Regions from separate parts of the Homo sapiens genome. Here region 2 is linked to region 1. Evidence: promoter capture Hi-C in 16 types of primary human blood cells and fetal thymus (Javierre and others, 2016). All regions are on one chromosome and are shown on one strand. Each heading gives the region's core, a stretch centred on a gene start or on the middle of the fragment in contact. The rest is flanking DNA. Distances are from core to core; before and after follow the strand shown. Region 1 holds the start of SERPINC1 (serpin family C member 1). Region 2 overlaps RABGAP1L (RAB GTPase activating protein 1 like).

Region 1 (3,764 bases), core at 1,208-3,707:
TAGCTGAGATTACAGGTGCATACCACCATGCCCAGCTAATTTTTTTTTTATTTTTTAGTAGAGACAGGGTTTCACTGTCTTGGCCAGGCTGGTCTCAAACCCCTGACCTCAAGTGATCTGCCCACCTCAGCCTCCCAAACTGCTGGGATTACAGGCGTGAGCCACCACGCCTGGCAGAACACTTTTAAAATATATATATAATTTAATTTTTAACATTTGAGACAGGGGCTCACTCTGTCACCAAGGCTGGAGTGCAGTGGTGTGATCACAGCTCACTGCAGTCTGAATTCCTGGGCTCAAGTGATCCTCCCACCTCAGCCTCCTGAGTAGCTGGGACTACAGGCTCATGCCACCATGCCCAGCTTATTATTATTATTTTCTGGAGATGGGGGTCTCACCGTGTGTGGGGTCTCACAGTTGGTCTTGAACTCCTGGCCTCAAGCCTTGGCCTTCCAAAGTGCTAGGATTACAGATGTGAGCCACTGCATCCAGCCTGGATGAACAAATTAAACACAAACCCTGATGTTATAGTTCTTAATTCCTTGACCTGGTAGTATCTGCATCCTAATCTTTTCCAGCGATGTTCACCAAATCACCTATATTTTTGCAGGGCCCCTCATCTGCCCTCCCCCAAGGACCTTCTTGGCAAGACACAAACCTCATAACTCCTATAAGCTGGAACAATAGGTCTCAACAGCATGTTCCTGAAACCTCAAGGTCTTTGTATTTCTGATTTCTCTTTGGACAGCTCTTCCTAAAGATATTCATATGGCCCCCTCCATCATTTCATTCTGGTTTCCTAACAATGATTCCTAAGGGAGGCCTTTCCTACCAAGTGTTCTCAGATGGTGCCCTCCCCACTTCCTCCCACTGCTTCCTATATCCTTGCCCTGCTATAGTTTTCTCTATGGACCTTATTAACATCTGACTGGCACGTTACATATTTATTTTTTAAATACTGATTTTTTTTTTTTGAGATGGAGTCTTGCTCTGTCACCCAGGCTGGAGTGCAATAGCACGATCTCGGCTCACTGCAACCTCTGCCTCCTGGGGTCAAGTGATTCTCCTGCCTCAGCCTCCTGAGTAGCTGGAATTACAGGTGCCCACCACCATGCCCAGCTATTTTTTGTATTTTTAGTAGAGATGGGGTTTCACCAGGTTGGCTAGGCCGGTCTCGAACTCCTGACCTCAGGTGATCCACCTGCCTCAGCCTACCAAAGTGCTGGGATTACAGGTGTGAGCCACCACGCTTGGCCTAAAATACTGATTCTTTATGTGATTGCTGTATGTCTCCCCCGAATGGAATCCCAGCCCCAAGAACAGTGTCTGCTGGCACAAGCAGCACTCGTGTATTTGTTGAACTCAAGTGGTTGAACAGGAGACTTTTCAATAGTCTTTAATCTAGGGTGACAGATGAGCCTCTGGGCATTCTGGGGCCCTTTGGGACAGTTCTCGGCTACTGTTCACACTGCACATGGAGGGCTTCAAAGGATCCAGGGTCTGAATCAGCCAAGAACTTAGACACAGCTTCAGTTCAGGAGAGATGTCCTCTCTCATGAACGAAGAGCTCTCGAAAATGCCTATGACTGCAACAACAACTACAAGGAGTCCTTGATCACACAGCAGGAGGCACATGCGCCCTGTGAACTTGGTGGCTGCAGTCCTTGTGATGGTGCTTTTGGCTATTTCAGAAGAGGGAAATGTAAACAAACCTGCCCTTTATCTCCACTAGTTTGAATTTACCCAATCTCCCCAATAACTAATAAAAATAACGATACACATAAATATAATTTAGTTTGTTTTTATTTCAGCAGTTGTACGTGGGTTTTTCACCTGCCCCGCATTCTGTCTCCTGATCCCCCAGTAGAGTTTTGCTAAGTATTTCCCAGCTGCTCACACCCCTTAGAAACGCGCTTGGCATGCACCCCGAGGCCCTGCTCTTCTCTCCCTGTCCCACCACTTCAGGGCTGCTGGGGAATGGGTCTCTCTGTGGGCCACAGGTGTAACCATTGTGTTTTCCTTGTCTGTGCCAGGGACACCTTGGCACTCAGATGCCTGAAGGTAGCAGCTTGTCCCTCTTTGCCTTCTCTAATTAGATATTTCTCTCTCTCTCTCCCTCTCTCCATAAAGAAAACTATGAGAGAGGGTGGGTATGAACCAAGTTTGTTTCCTTGGTTAGTTTCCTAACCAAGTTTGAGGGTATGAACATACTCTCCTTTTCCTTTTCTATAAAGCTGAGGAGAAGAGTGAGGGAGTGTGGGCAAGAGAGGTGGCTCAGGCTTTCCCTGGGCCTGATTGAACTTTAAAACTTCTCTACTAATTAAACAACACTGGGCTCTACACTTTGCTTAACCCTGGGAACTGGTCATCAGCCTTTGACCTCAGTTCCCCCTCCTGACCAGCTCTCTGCCCCACCCTGTCCTCTGGAACCTCTGCGAGATTTAGAGGAAAGAACCAGTTTTCAGGCGGATTGCCTCAGATCACACTATCTCCACTTGCCCAGCCCTGTGGAAGATTAGCGGCCATGTATTCCAATGTGATAGGAACTGTAACCTCTGGAAAAAGGTAAGAGGGGTGAGCTTTCCCCTTGCCTGCCCCTACTGGGTTTTGTGACCTCCAAAGGACTCACAGGAATGACCTCCAACACCTTTGAGAAGACCAGGCCCTCTCCCTGGTAGTTACAGTCAAAGACCTGTTTGGAAGACGTCATTTCAAGTGCTCTCCCTCCCACCCCACCTCTTGGGGTAAGGCCTTTCCTAAGCTACCCCTTGGGTCCCTAGCCTAAGAAACAAGGGGGATGTCATCCCTGGTGTAAAGATGCTGTGCAGGAAGTCAGCACTCACGGGATCCAGGGGACGCTCCAAGGGGAATCCCCAGGGCCTGCCATCCATCCGGGAAGAGAGCAAATGCTACCCATGAGGACCTCCTCACTCCCTTTTTGCTCTTTCTTCCACTCAGATCCACCCCACTCCACCCCCACCCAAATCCCAGTGACCTTTGACTAAAGGGCCAAAACTGCTTCCTTTTCTCACAATGAGAGTTGTCCCTCCCTCAATGCCACACACACTCCCTTCTTCATCTGAGTTGTCACAGGAGGCTAGAAACGGGGTGGTGGCACAACTGTCTTGGTTTTAATTTGTGCTTCATAGCCCTCCCAGGGTCCTCTCAGCCTCAAATTGCATTTCCAAATGTAGTTGAAGGACAGAGTGGGCAACCGAAGGCAGTGGAGATGGGAAGATGAATGGCAGGGTCCTCTCCTCTCTCTCTCTGCTTCTTCAGCCTGCCTTCCACATCTCCCTTGGTGCCGCTGCTTCTCTCCGGCTTTGCACCTCTGTTCTTGAAAGGGCTGCAGAACTGGACTCAGACCACGCAAGAAGGCAAGTCCCCCTCAGCTGCCCCAGCTTCCAGCCAGCCCCAGGCTTGCCCAACGGACCACGTCCGTGAATCTGCACTGGGTGCCTGTCTTTCTCTCCCAGGAGAAGATGGGAAGATCCAGTACCCACACACAGACCCCCTTGTGTACACGCAGGAACCATAAACCAGCTGGAGGCAGCCCCTGCCCCACCCTGTCTTATCTACAAAAAATATTACAAGAGACTTTATCTCTTGATTTGCTTCATCGAGTGTCCCAACTACCTCATTTTTTTAAAATGTGAAATTAGCTTCATTTACCTTCATTGAATCCATGTTGGCGACTATTAAAAATTCCAGGCAATAAAAAGGGATGAGAGCCTGAACTAAAGCAGTGGCAATAACTGGTGAAA
Region 2 (4,334 bases), core at 679-3,178, 860 kb before region 1:
CCCAGGCTGGTTTTGAACTCCAAGACTCATGTGATCCTCCTGCCTCAGCTTCTCAAAGTGCTGGGATTACAGGCATGAGCCATGGCTCTTGGCCATAAAAACCTTCTTAATCAAGCTTACGTATGACACAAATAAATGACTTTATTCTAAATTCATTTAGCTTTACCAAAACCAAATTCTCTTAGTCAAGGAAAAGCAATAAAAGATAAAAAAGATCAAGGCTATGGGCGTTTTAGTTATTACATTTCTAGCAAAAGGAGCATATTTCAGCCTTTTCTCAACCTGCATAAACAATATATTAAATAAAACTGTATATGCTTCAGTTACATTTCCTCTACTGGTTATATTATTCTGATAAGATCAATTGATTCCCACAGTGAGTTATCAAACTATCAACACTGTAATGGACAAAATTAGTCTATTTCATTCTAAAAAGCAATACCAGCAACTCTTACAGATAAAAAGGGTCATAAAAACATATTGGGCAGTGAATCCTCTGACAAGTCTCTTGATAATAGCTCCTTATGATCAGCTCACATACTCTGATTGGTCAGAGTGAAATGGAGTTTAACCAGAGCATTAAACAGTATTCAGGGATGACTTCATATATCTCAAAGATTATGACAGAATAAGTGGAAAGGCAGAACTCAGGAATCAAATATTATTCCAGCCAGTCAAGAGCAGAGAATATTTTAATTTCATGATGATTTTTGACAGTGAGTTCATTTTCATTAGCCTAAATTCAATTATTTGTTCATATAGCAATGGCTCTTGGTTGCTCTGGCTCTGCTTCTATCCTATTCAACCAAGGACATTTTTAAATTGGGACAACTATCTTTGAACATACAATAGAATATGCTTAATTCAAACAACTTGAATTAAAAAACCTGTTTTCACTCATAGTATGATGTCAACATAGATTTGTGGAATGGAGACTGATTTCACTATAATTTAAGGGTCTCCTGCTGTATAACGTAAAAAGGCATGGAATTTTTAGTGAGAGCCACCTGGCTTTTATTTATTTATTTGTTTATTACTTTTTAGATAACGGGTCTCACTATGTTGTTCAGATTAGTCTTGCACTCATGGGCTCAAGTGATCTTTCCACCTTAGCCTTCCAAGTAGCTAGGATTACAGGCATATGTCGCCATGCCTGGGATTTGAGTATCAAGTAGGATATAATCTCTTGTTCACAGAGCAATTGTAAGGTTTAAAATAAACACACACACACACACACACCCCATAGCTTAGAAGTTAAGAACACTGCCTCTGTAGTAAGACAGGCCTAGTTGTGATTGTGGTATGTCATTTGCCTAACTGAATGACTTTAACCAAGTTTTTTAACTTTTTATAAGTCTTAGTTTCCTAATCTGTAAAATGAGCATATTGATTCATACCAACAAGTCAATACAGTATTAACAGTAATAGAATCACTGATAAAATAGTAATACAATATTAACAGTAATAGAATTATTGTTAAAATTAGGATTTCTTTTAATTAATGTCAGTAAAAAAATTAAGGGTCATACACTATGCTAAGTGAAATATGCCAGAGATAAGACAAATACGATATAATTCCACTTACATGAGGTACCTAGAGTAGCCAAATTCATAGAGACAGAAAGCAGAATGGTGACTGCCAGGGGCTAAGGGGAGAAAGGAATGGGGAGTTACTATTTAACAGGTGCAAGAGTTTCAGTTTTGCAAGATGAAAAAAAGATCTGGAGATGGATGGTGGTGATAGTTGCACAACAATGTCAATTTACCTAATGTCACTGAACTGTGTACTTAGGAATGGTTAAAACTGTACTTTTTTTTTTTTTTTTTTTTTTTTTGAGATGGAGTCTTGCTCTGTTGCCCAGGCTGGAGTGCAGTGGTGCGATCTCAGCTCACCACAAGCTCCGCCTCCCGGGTTCAAGCGATTCTCCCATCTCAGTCTCCTGAGTAGCCAGGCACACGCCACAACACCCGCTAATTTTGTATTTTTAGTAGAAATGGGGTTTCTCCATGTTGGCCAGGGTGATCTCGAACTCCTGACCTCAGGTGATCCACCCACCTTGGCCTCCCAAAGTGCTGGGATTACAGGCCTGAGCCACTGCCCTGACCAAAATTGTACATTTTATGTTACGTATATTATACTACAATAAACAAAATTAAAGGTAGTGAAGATTAGTTATTTTTTTTTGTTTTGTTTTTTGTTTTTTTTTGAGACAGTCTGACTCTGTCGTCCAGGCTGTAGTGCAGTGGCGTGATCTCAGCTCACTGCAACCTCTGCCTCCCGGCTTCAAGCAATTCTTTGCCTCAGCCTCTCGAGTAGCTGGGATTACAGGCACCCACCACCAGGCCCGGCTAATTTTTTGTATTTTTAGTAGAGATGGGGTTTCACCATCTTGGCCAGGCTGGTCTTGAACTTCTGACCTCGTGATCCACCTGCCTCGGCCTTCCAAAGTGCTGGGATTATAGGCGTGGGCCAATGTGCCCGGCCGTGAAGATTAGTTTTAAAGTGCTTAGCACAGCATCAGATACATTTTAAGTGCTCAATAAATGATAGGTGTCTTACTATTAATTTTATTTATTAAACATTTAAAAAATGCATTTGAGAGCTCATTACAAACTGTTTAAATGCTACACAATTATATTGTTATTGATGGTAGCTGTCAGATTTTTTTTACATAGATCCAACACATTGCTTGGATATCTAGAAATACCTGATAGAATGATCACAGTGCAGAGGTGTGAGTGCTAGAAAATACACACACTAACATTTCACTAATGTAGAACAAATGGGTTGTTTATATTCAAGTATGGTTATAAAGAGATTTTTAAGTTGAAATGAAAACATTTTGGTGGTATTCATCTTGAAGTATAACAAATAAAATATTCCTTTGCTCCTAATTTTATTATATTGTTCTGTAAACACTTTTTTTTTTGTAAAAGAGGCAAAGATAAATTTAGCCAAGCACTTAAACAACAAACATGCAAATTATACAAAGATTCTTATCTACTCATTAAAGGACTGAAATGGTTATATAAGACATACAAACATACACACATATACACACACCTATAGCACAGATTGACACAGCTGGCATGACATAAATTTAGAGCATGCTTCCCTGTCTCTTTATTTTATAAGTTAGGAAATTAAGTGTTAAAAGGTTAGATGATTTGATTAAAATTCCACAATAAATTGATGGCAGAAATGTAATTAAAGCCCCTCAGAATCGTATCCTGCGCATCCCCCTCAAATGTGCCATGGCAAAGGACTTGCCTCAGCCATTCTTCCTCATTCCTCTTCTACATGCTGTTCACTCTCACCCTCATGTCCTATTCTCAGGTTAGATGCCACCTTTGGAAAATGTTTACTAGTTTCCCAGAATGAATTTGGCATTCTGCCTTTAGGCTCCCAAAGATCCCTTTTAAACCCCAGGATCAAACACACTGAATTCTTATGTCTGTGTGCCTCCCCTATTAGATGTGACAACTTCAGGACACAGAATGTCATCTCTGTATCCCCTGACATCTAACCCAGGGACTGTCAATAGTGAATATCTGTTGAATAAGTGAACTAACTAACCATCACAGGCTTCTCCAAAGAGAGACAGGAAAGATGGGATCAAGGACATAGTGAGGAAGTTAGCCTTGGAATGGGGGCAGAACAGACCTTCATTAAAGACAAGAGCAAAGCAGAAGAGGATGAAGACAGAGAGGGATTTTTAAGTAAAAGGGATGGAAGCTTAAATGAGTACTTATTTTGCTCACAAAAATAGAACAAGGAGGAAACTGGATTTTTTTGTTCTGTTTGTTCTCTGTCAAGGGAGCTTGTATTTCTTAGGGTACATTAAGTTCAATTTAATCACTGACTACTTGGAAATGGTGTGTTTATTCAACTGTCTTCCCTTCTTGATATTTTGGATTGTTTCATGAGAAATAAGTAATGAGAAATTGCTTCAACAAATTTAAGGTATTATATAATATGTGCATGGTACTGTGATGATATACATTTTTTCCTGATACAGATCCCTGTTTCATAAAATGTATTATTTCTGAAACTTTAAAACTTTAAAATTCCTTGAGTATCCTAATTAGAAGCCCAGTATTTGTGTTTGTTGGTTTGTTTTAGCATTTACTAGATAGCATCTTGAAACTAACCTATCATCAAACTGAAGATGCACTAGAGAAAGTTAAAAACAAACAAATGAAATATTCAAGTAACAAATGATCCAGGAGTGGTGTTTTACTGCCACCAACAGGACAATAGGCATTCCTTCATGAAAGTTACAAAACTAATGGAATGTACAAAATCATTGCAAATCCAAAAAAAAAGTTTATGA

The links. The method cuts DNA at HindIII sites, captures the fragments that hold promoters and counts their contacts. A CHiCAGO score of 5 or more calls a contact.
Region 2: a contact is called between a fragment that was not itself captured here and the fragment with the promoter of SERPINC1 in region 1, in 1 of 17 cell types (neutrophils). The highest score is 5.4, in neutrophils.

Annotation. Positions count from the first base shown.
Region 1 is chr1:173,916,020-173,919,783 of GRCh38, reverse strand. SERPINC1 (serpin family C member 1) reads left to right here and starts at 2,457. Exons shown (of 7, transcript NM_000488.4): 1 at 2,457-2,565. The coding sequence starts at 2,525. It overlaps LOC124904457 (a long non-coding RNA gene), which reads right to left and starts at 3,284. Exons shown (of 2, transcript XR_007066739.1): 1 at 2,844-3,284. The HindIII fragment of the contact is 6,307 bases long and covers 1-3,764 here.
Region 2 is chr1:174,770,069-174,774,402 of GRCh38, reverse strand. The region is part of intron 18 of RABGAP1L (RAB GTPase activating protein 1 like); the gene reads right to left. Among named protein-coding and RNA genes, the nearest start is that of RABGAP1L-AS1, 180 kb to the left of the region's middle. The HindIII fragment of the contact is 3,621 bases long and covers 118-3,738 here.